Regions from separate parts of the Homo sapiens genome. Here region 1 is linked to region 2. The links are contacts of gene promoters, found by promoter capture Hi-C in blood cells and fetal thymus (Javierre and others, 2016). All regions are on one chromosome and are shown on one strand. Each heading gives the region's core, a stretch centred on a gene start or on the middle of the fragment in contact. The rest is flanking DNA. Distances are from core to core; before and after follow the strand shown. Region 1 overlaps ZMYM6 (zinc finger MYM-type containing 6). Region 2 holds the start of KIAA0319L (KIAA0319 like).

Region 1 (4,358 bases), core at 1,793-4,292, 570 kb after region 2:
GCGATTCTCCTACCTCAGCCTCCTGAGTAGCTGGGATTACAGGCACCTGCCACCATGCCCAGCTAATTTTCTTTTGTATTTTTAGTAGAGACGGGATTTCACAGTGTTGGCAACGCTGGTCTCAAACTCGTGACCTCATGATGTGCCCGCCTCAGCCTCCCAAAGTGCTGGGATTACAAGCGTGAGCCACCGCGCCGGCCTATCATCTATTCTTAAGTATTTTGATACCTGTTGCCTAAATTGCCCTCCTGAAAAGTTACATCAATGTATGCTCCAACCAGCAGTGTTCAGGAGGATCCATTTCTCTACAACCTCACTGACACTGAGTATCAAAATTCAGAAAGGTTGAATATACAGTACAGTCAATACTAGTATACTCTTCATCCAGATTAATGAAATGTTAACTTTTTGCAATATTTATTTTCTTTTTTTTTCTGGATTGTTTGAAAGTAAAACATTATTTTTCTGTCTCTTTTTCTTCCTTTTCTTTCTTTTTTTTGAGATGGAGTTTCACTCTTGTCTCCCAGGCCGGAGTGCAATGACATGATCTCGGCACATTGCAACCTCCGCCTCCCGGGTTCAAGCGATTCTCCTGCCTCAGCCTCTCAAGTAGCTGAGATTATAGGCATGTACCACCATGCCTGGCTAATTTTGTGTTTTTAGTAGAGACGGGGTTTCACCACGTTGGCCTGGCTGGTCTCGAACTCCTGACCTCAGGTGATCTGCCCGCCTTGGCCTCCCAAAGTGCTGGGATTACAGGTGTGAGCCCCATGCCTGGCCTTTTTTTTCTTTTTCTTTAAAAAAATTTTTTGACACCAGTGTCACTCACCAATAAAAAATTTATTCTTTTTGTTTTTTTTTGAGACGTAGTCTCAAGAGTGCAGTGGTGTGATCATGGCTCTCTGCAGGCTCAACCTCCTGGGCTCAGGCAATCCTCTTGCTTTAGCTACCCAAGTAGCTGGGACTATAGGTGTGTGCCATTGCATCCAGCCAATTTTTTTTCTTCTTCTTTTTTTTTTTTTAATGTAGAGATGGAGTTTCGCCATGTTGCCCGGGCTGGTCTCTAACTCCAGGGCTCAAGTGACCCACCCACCTTGGTGTCCCAAAGCACTGGGATTATAGGTGTGAGCCACCCTGCTCAGCCAAAAAGTTTATTGTTAATTTGATGTGTATCATGGTCTTCAGCCCTAATTTCAATAACCTATTGGGTGCTTGGGATTACTTGTACATGTACCACATCCTACAGTTTTATTATACCTAGTGATCAAGCTTTGGGCAAAGGAGAAATTCAGTTTTCAGTAGCATCATTGGAAGTATTATGACTTGTGCTTAAACTTTTACCAGTGCATTCTTTTGATAAATAGAAATAGTAACAAAATATGAATTTTAAATATGTGGGGAGATACATAAAGAACATTGCTTATTTGTTCTTGAAAATAACAGTGATTCAAATATTTCATTCAGATTTACCTATGCCTAATGAAAAAAATGATGCAGAACTTGATTCTCCACCTTCAAAGAAAAAAAGATTAGGTTTTTTCCAGACTTATGATACAGAATATTTAAAAGTTGGTTTTATTATCTGTCCTGGATCAAAAGAAAGTTCACCAAGGCCACAGTGTGTCATTTGTGGAGAGATCTTATCCAGTGAAAACATGAAGCCAGCAAATCTTTCTCATCATTTGAAGACAAAACATTCAGAATTAGAAAACAAACCAGTAGATTTTTTTGAACAAAAATCTTTAGAAATGGAATGTCAAAATAGTTCTTTAAAAAAGTGTTTACTAGTTGAAAAGTCACTTGTGAAAGCTTCTTATTTAATTGCTTTCCAAACTGCTGCAAGCAAGAAGCCATTCTCCATTGCTGAAGAATTAATTAAACCATATTTAGTAGAAATGTGTTCAGAAGTTTTGGGTTCAAGTGCTGGAGACAAAATGAAAACTATTCCACTTTCTAATGTTACAATTCAACACAGGATTGATGAACTATCTGCAGACATTGAAGACCAGCTGATTCAAAAGGTCAGAGAGTCAAAGTGGTTTGCCCTTCAGATAGATGAGTCATCAGAAATCTCAAATATCACACTTCTTTTGTGCTATATTCGTTTCATTGATTATGATTGTCGTGATGTAAAAGAAGAATTATTATTTTGCATTGAAATGCCTACTCAAATAACTGGCTTTGAAATATTTGAACTAATAAATAAATATATTGATAGTAAATCTCTGAATTGGAAACATTGTGTTGGTCTCTGTACCGATGGGGCTGCAAGCATGACTGGCAGGTATTCTGGTTTAAAAGCAAAAATTCAAGAAGTTGCCATGAATACAGCGGCATTTACACATTGTTTTATTCACCGTGAACGTTTAGTGGCAGAAAAGTTGTCTCCATGTTTACATAAAATTCTTTTGCAGTCAGCACAAATTTTAAGTTTTATAAAGAGCAATGCATTAAATTCACGTATGTTAACAATTTTGTGTGAAGAGATGGGATCTGAGCATGTGAGTTTACCGCTTCATGCTGAAGTACGTTGGATATCAAGAGGGAGAATGTTAAAAAGATTATTTGAATTACGACATGAGATTGAAATATTTTTAAGTCAAAAGCATTCAGATTTGGCCAAGTATTTTCATGATGAGGAATGGGTTGGAAAGCTGGCCTACTTATCAGATATATTTTCACTTATAAATGAATTAAATTTAAGTCTCCAAGGAACTTTGACTACTTTCTTCAATTTGTGTAATAAAATTGATGTATTTAAGAGAAAGTTAAAAATGTGGTTGAAGCGCACACAAGAGAATGATTATGACATGTTCCCTTCATTTTCTGAATTCTCAAATTCATCAGGCTTAAATATGACAGACATCACAAGGATTATTTTTGAGCACCTGGAAGGACTTTCTCAAGTGTTCAGTGACTGTTTTCCACCAGAACAAGACTTGCGTTCAGGAAATTTGTGGATAATTCACCCTTTTATGAATCACCAAAATAATAATCTCACCGACTTCGAAGAAGAAAAGCTAACAGAGCTATCTTCAGATTTAGGATTACAAGCACTATTTAAATCAGTGTCTGTAACTCAGTTTTGGATAAATGCAAAGACAAGTTACCCAGAACTCCATGAAAGGGCAATGAAATTTTTATTACCCTTTTCAACTGTTTATTTATGTGATGCTGCCTTTTCAGCTTTGACTGAGTCAAAACAAAAAAATCTGTTGGGTTCTGGCCCTGCCCTAAGACTTGCAGTCACATCTTTAATTCCAAGGATAGAAAAATTAGTGAAGGAGAAAGAGTAGCAATATGCACATTGCTTAACAGTGAAGTCAATAATCCTGTGTTAAGTTTTGTATAAGTATCCTAAAAGATAATTTCCTAATGTGGATTTGTGTTTTCAGTGATTAAATGTTTTAATAATTTTTCCCTTTTTGTTGAGGAATTTAATAATTATGATTGTTATAAATAATTATGTATAATTATAATCTAGGGTAGAAAATTTAGTTATTTCATTAAATTTGGACTAGTGACAAAGACTGCAGGTAATGAGAAGCCCAGTTTATAATGTAACAGCACAACCTGGATGTTGAAACAGCTTGGCCTTTAGAAGCAAGTGGAACATTTCAGTCTTCTAGCCAACCAGCTACTTACCCCTGCAAGGTTGTGAGTAGGTGGAAAAGATAGATCTTTTTTTTGAGATGGAGTTTTGCTCTTGTTGCCCAGGCTGGAGTGCAATGGCGTGATCTTGGCTCACTGGAACCTCTGCCTCCTAGGTTCAAACAATTCTCCTGCCTCAGCCTTCCAAGTAGCTGGGGTTACAGGCATGTGCCACCATGCCCGTCTATTGTATTTTTTTTAGTAGAGACGGGGTTTCACCATATTGGTCAGGCTGGTCTCTATCTCCTGACCTCAAGTGATCCACCTGCCTCGGCCTCCCAAAGTGCTGGGATTACAAGTGTGAGCCAACGTGCCCAGCTGGAAAAAGATAGATCTAAGCAGCTTGGGTAACTATAAATGGAAGCAGCAGGGGGATTTGAGACCCCTGCTTGGGGCCTTTCTGGCCCAATATACCAGGGCTTAGCAAACTTTTTAAATAAAGAGCCAGATAGTAAATATTTTCAGCTTTGCAGGCCATACTGTCACAACTACTCAATTCTGCAGTTGCAGTGCAAAAGCAGCCATAGACAATATGCAGATAAGTGTGGCTGTTTTTAAATAAAACTTATTCATGAACACTGAAATATGAATTTCATATAATTTTCCTATGTCACACAAGCTTCTTTAAAAAATGTTTTTATCATAAAAAATGTAAACAAACATTATTAGCTTGGGGGAAGGGGAGAAGCATGGAAAAAAATCAGACA
Region 2 (4,067 bases), core at 1,334-3,833:
GGATTTAAAGTCCTTCCTTAATTGCTCCCTCCAGAGAAGTCCCTGATCCATTTCTGCCACCTTCTCAGGGGAAATGGCTCCTGTGTCTCGCCGCTCCGCCTGTCAAAACATTTCCCCTTACATTTCACCTAAACACCTCCTCTGCTGCAGTGTGAGCCCTTGACTCCAGAGCCTTCTCCTTGTTGCCATGGCAAACAAGCAGCGGCTGTACTCCCTCCTCCCTTCACCCCCCACACACAACCCCCCCTTCCTAGCACTGCAGCTTCTGCTCTGCTGTCCCCAGCTTGGGTTCCTCCAAAAAGGCTAAGCCCCAAACTAGCTCCCATTCCTTAACCTACCTACTGCCATCCTGGCCTTCCCCTAGGACCCCTCCCCAGCCACTTCCAGCCCTGCTACTCTCTCCAGGCCCAGAACAACCATCCCCAGCCCTCAAGTACTCTGCACTAGTTACTACCTGCTGCTGTTACCCTATGAGTCAGCTTCCATCTGCTCTGGGACGCCCCAGAAAACAGACCCAGGCAGCCCCTAGTGCCACAGCCTTATTCAGTCCCATTCTCCTCTTTGCCCCCATTCTCAGGGGGAGCAAAAAAGAGCACAAAGGTAGGGGTCTTGGGCCTTCGTTGGTGCCTCCAGGGTTGCTAGCACTACGTACATATCCTTGGGGACTCACTGACCCCATTCCTTGGGGGCCCAACCACCCAGCCCTTCCCACCTCCCAATTTTCAGCCAGTTCCTTACTAGCAGCAGGGCTGCAAACTGCTCGCTGTCATTCTTGGCCTCACGGAGGGCTCCCAGGTAGCGCTCCAGGGTGGGGTTTCGGCCCTCTGCCTGGTTCAGAGCTGGCTCGCAATCCGAGGCCATGATGCTCGCCTTGCCCAACTGTGAACACAAGAGGGACTGAGCATCCCTCTGCAGAGGAGGGACGGGGGTGGGGTGGGGGTGAGAGTGGAGGATGGAGGGAGGGAGGGATTAGCACAGAGGGAGGGGAGGAGAGAATCTGGAGGGGTGGACTCCTCAGGACTGACCTCCCCCCAGAAGCCCCTTTAAGGGGCTGGATCTGCAAATCCTTAGGGATAAAGAAGGGACCCTGGTCCAAGGTCACCTCCAGAAAGCGGGAAAGAAGGACCATGCATGCTGCTGCTCAGCCGGACAGCTCTCCTCACCAGTCTCCTGGGGGTGGGCGGGAGCTGGCCCCACTGCTCAGCTGTCCCCCTGGCACCGGAGGCTGGGTTTTATCTCCCTCCACAGGGACACAGAGGGAGTGAGTGGTGAGGACAGACAGGGAGAAATGGAGACATACATGGGTGAAGTTCGATTATCCGGACTCAGGCTGACATGGGAGAAAAGGACACCCCAGGCTTCCTTTCCCCTCCCTTCTTCAGAGGCAGAGATACGCTTCAGAAGTGAGAATACAAGACGCTCAACAGGGAAGGCTTGGAGGCCCCTTTGGGGACCCCACCCCTCCAGCCAGGGCTCTCAGTCGCCCCCGCAGGCTCCTTGCCTCCTCTCCTTTCCCTCCCTCGGGTAGAGGCTGCAGCAGCAGCAGCAGCGGCGGCGGCAGCAGCAGAATTAACCCCTTGCGCTCCCTCTTCTCGCCCTCCCCGTCCCGCTACCAGCCTGTGGATGCCGGCAGGGGCTGGAGAAGCAAGAGGGGGTCCCGGATAGTTCCCAGGACAACGGAGAATCCAAAAGCCGGATAATCGAAGCAGGGCTGCTGAGATGGGGAGATGAGAAGGGGAGGAGGGTTCCTGGCGGTCACCACCTGTCCCGCCGCAGCCAGGTCACAACACGACATTGATGAAGTCACGACAGGGCGGCGATGAGATCACACTTCACGATGGCGCGGTGATGTCACGGAGAGATCACGTCAAAATCACGACATGGGAGACAGCCCCCAAAGATGACAGGGCAAATTAAAAAAAAAAAAGATATATATTGAAAAGGGCTGTGACAAAATGGAGTCTCGACAGGGCACGATGGTGTCGCGATATGGCGCGATGGAGTCGCGATAGGGTCCCCGGGGTGTGTCGGCATCGATCAGCGCCGGCTCGGAGAGGCCCCGGCTGGGATGCAGGGGAGGGCCCGAAGGGGGCTGAGCTCACCAGGCTGCGGCCCCGAGCGGCGAAGTCTTCTCCCAGCGCGATGCTCCGGGAGCCTCGGGCCGCTGCTCACGCCGCGTTGCCCACTCCTGGCTCCAGGCTGCTGCAGCTCCACCCCCACCCCCGCACCGCTCTTGACGAATCCGCGGCTGCTTCACTCCGGGCTCTGGCCAATGGCAAGTCAGGGTGCTAAGCAGTAGGGGGTGCCGCCGTTGCCGCCATCTTGCTTGTGGGTATTGCCCGAGTCTGGGGGCTGGGGCTCGAGCGAAGGAGGCAAGGTGCAGACTGCCTCTGGAGAGCGGGCGGCGAGAGGCTGGGGGCCCAGATTCCTTCGCTTGTGCGTAGTTTTACCCGCCCAGCACTGCCCCTCCTCCCCCTTGGTCTCGCGGCCGGCATTGCCCTTCCCGGGGGAGGGGCGGGAGGGCTTGGTTAGCATGGAGAGTGTGTTTCCGGGTCGGTCCCGGGGAGGTGGGAGGAGGCGGTGTTTCCGGCCGCCGTCGCTGTCCAGGGAGGCTGAGGCGAGAGGTAGCTGTCCGGGTGGGGAGCCCGCACTACCTTCTTCCTCTTCCTCCTCCTCCTCCGGGTGAGGGGAGCGAAGGTTGGGGGTCCCCGAGCCCATGGACCAGGAGGAGGCGGAGGCCGCCGAGAGCCGGGGCCCCGCTATGTGGCCCTGAGCCCCGGTAGGTGGCCGGGGGCGGCTGGCTGCCAGGCCGAGGACCATGGGCTCAGGGGAGGGGCAAGCGGGACGGGCGATGTCAGCGGCTGCGCTGGCCGGATGTTGGGTCCGGAGGTGGCGCCCCTGGCTCGGCCAGGGCAGCCAGCTGCTTCTGTCCTTGCAGGTGCGCAGCTTGGGTCCCAGGCTGAACCCCGCTTCTCTCGGGCCTGGGCCTAGTCATGCAGCTCCCTCCATCCCCTGAGAGCCAGGCAGACAGCCGGGGTTCGGGGCGCTGCCGTCCTTCTTCCACCTTCGACCTCTGCAGCCTAGTCTTTAGTTGCTGTCTCTGATGTTTGGTCTCTCCACCGAGATAGAAAGTTGGTGCAGAATGAAGAGGGGATGGGGTTGAGCACGATGTGTCCATTATAATGTGAAACCTGCCTCATCCACGATTTTGAAAATTATGCCCCACAGAGGGTCCTGTAGTGGCTGCAGTGAGCACAAAGGTGAAATGAAGGAAGTCAAAATTGATAACCTCTGGCGGGATTCCAGGAACTCTTTGGCTTCTGGTCTCATAGTGGTTGTGTCCAACTGACAGTAGTTGCAGTTAGTGAAGAGCATTAGCTGACTCTCCTTGTGCTCTCTCCTGTGATTAACAGACTGAAAACTAGGAACAAATTGGAAAGACGACCTCCCAGAACAATCTGTTCATTTTTCCAGCTATTTGGAAAACAGTGTCTGCAAATATAAGCAAAGCTATTCATGGCAGTCTGTTCTGTAACTTTCCCAAATATCTGAGACTTTTTAAAAAAGAGCTTTATTCTCGATTACTCATACCAACTGAATAGATTGTTTCAGACGTGCTCCATCGTTGTTCAAACATATCTTATCGCTGTGTACATAAATGGAGTTCCACGTATGTAGTTGACAGACTGAACTGTGATACATCCCCCATCAACCTGAAGTATTAAGTAAACATTACCCCCTGCTCTGTCTGAACAGCTGCTGCAACAGAGAGTGCTTTTATTTTGGGTGTACTTGTAACGCCCTAAATGCCAGAACTATTGTGAGCTTCTCTAGATTTTCATTTGTCAAGTATTGTGGGGGTGTGTGTTCTCTCCCTGGGTTGTTACCCTTTGATTCAGTAACAAACTATTCGGATCTTGGTGATGTGTTGTTGTTCTTGCGTTTGGTCAGCAAGCCTTTAACTGGACCCTAGCAGTGATTTGTGCCCTTAGGCAATTATAGGTTTCAGAGGAATGACTGGTTAGGAGTTCAAATGAAATTAACTCTGCCTTTCTCTTAGACGCAAG

What was found. Contacts are between HindIII fragments. The CHiCAGO score rates a contact against its expected background, and 5 or more counts as called.
Region 1: a contact is called between a fragment that was not itself captured here and the fragment with the promoter of KIAA0319L in region 2, in 1 of 17 cell types (erythroblasts). The highest score is 5.4, in erythroblasts.

Annotation. Positions count from the first base shown.
Region 1 is chr1:34,986,042-34,990,399 of GRCh38, reverse strand. ZMYM6 (zinc finger MYM-type containing 6) reads left to right here. Exons shown (of 16, transcript NM_007167.4): 16 at 1,465-4,235. The coding sequence ends at 3,296. Among named protein-coding and RNA genes, the nearest start is that of TMEM35B, 2.9 kb to the right of the region's middle. The HindIII fragment of the contact is 2,461 bases long and covers 1,812-4,272 here.
Region 2 is chr1:35,555,919-35,559,985 of GRCh38, reverse strand. KIAA0319L (KIAA0319 like) reads left to right here and starts at 2,583. Exons shown (of 21, transcript NM_024874.5): 1 at 2,583-2,779. It overlaps NCDN (neurochondrin), which reads right to left and starts at 2,187. Exons shown (of 7, transcript NM_014284.3): 1 at 1,763-2,187; 2 at 739-879. The coding sequence starts at 1,795. RefSeq lists enhancers at 246-971, 2,350-2,409, 1,699-2,425, 2,426-3,153, 3,954-4,067 and silencers at 1,359-1,568, 2,640-2,779, 2,790-2,889. The HindIII fragment of the contact is 13,260 bases long and covers 1-4,067 here.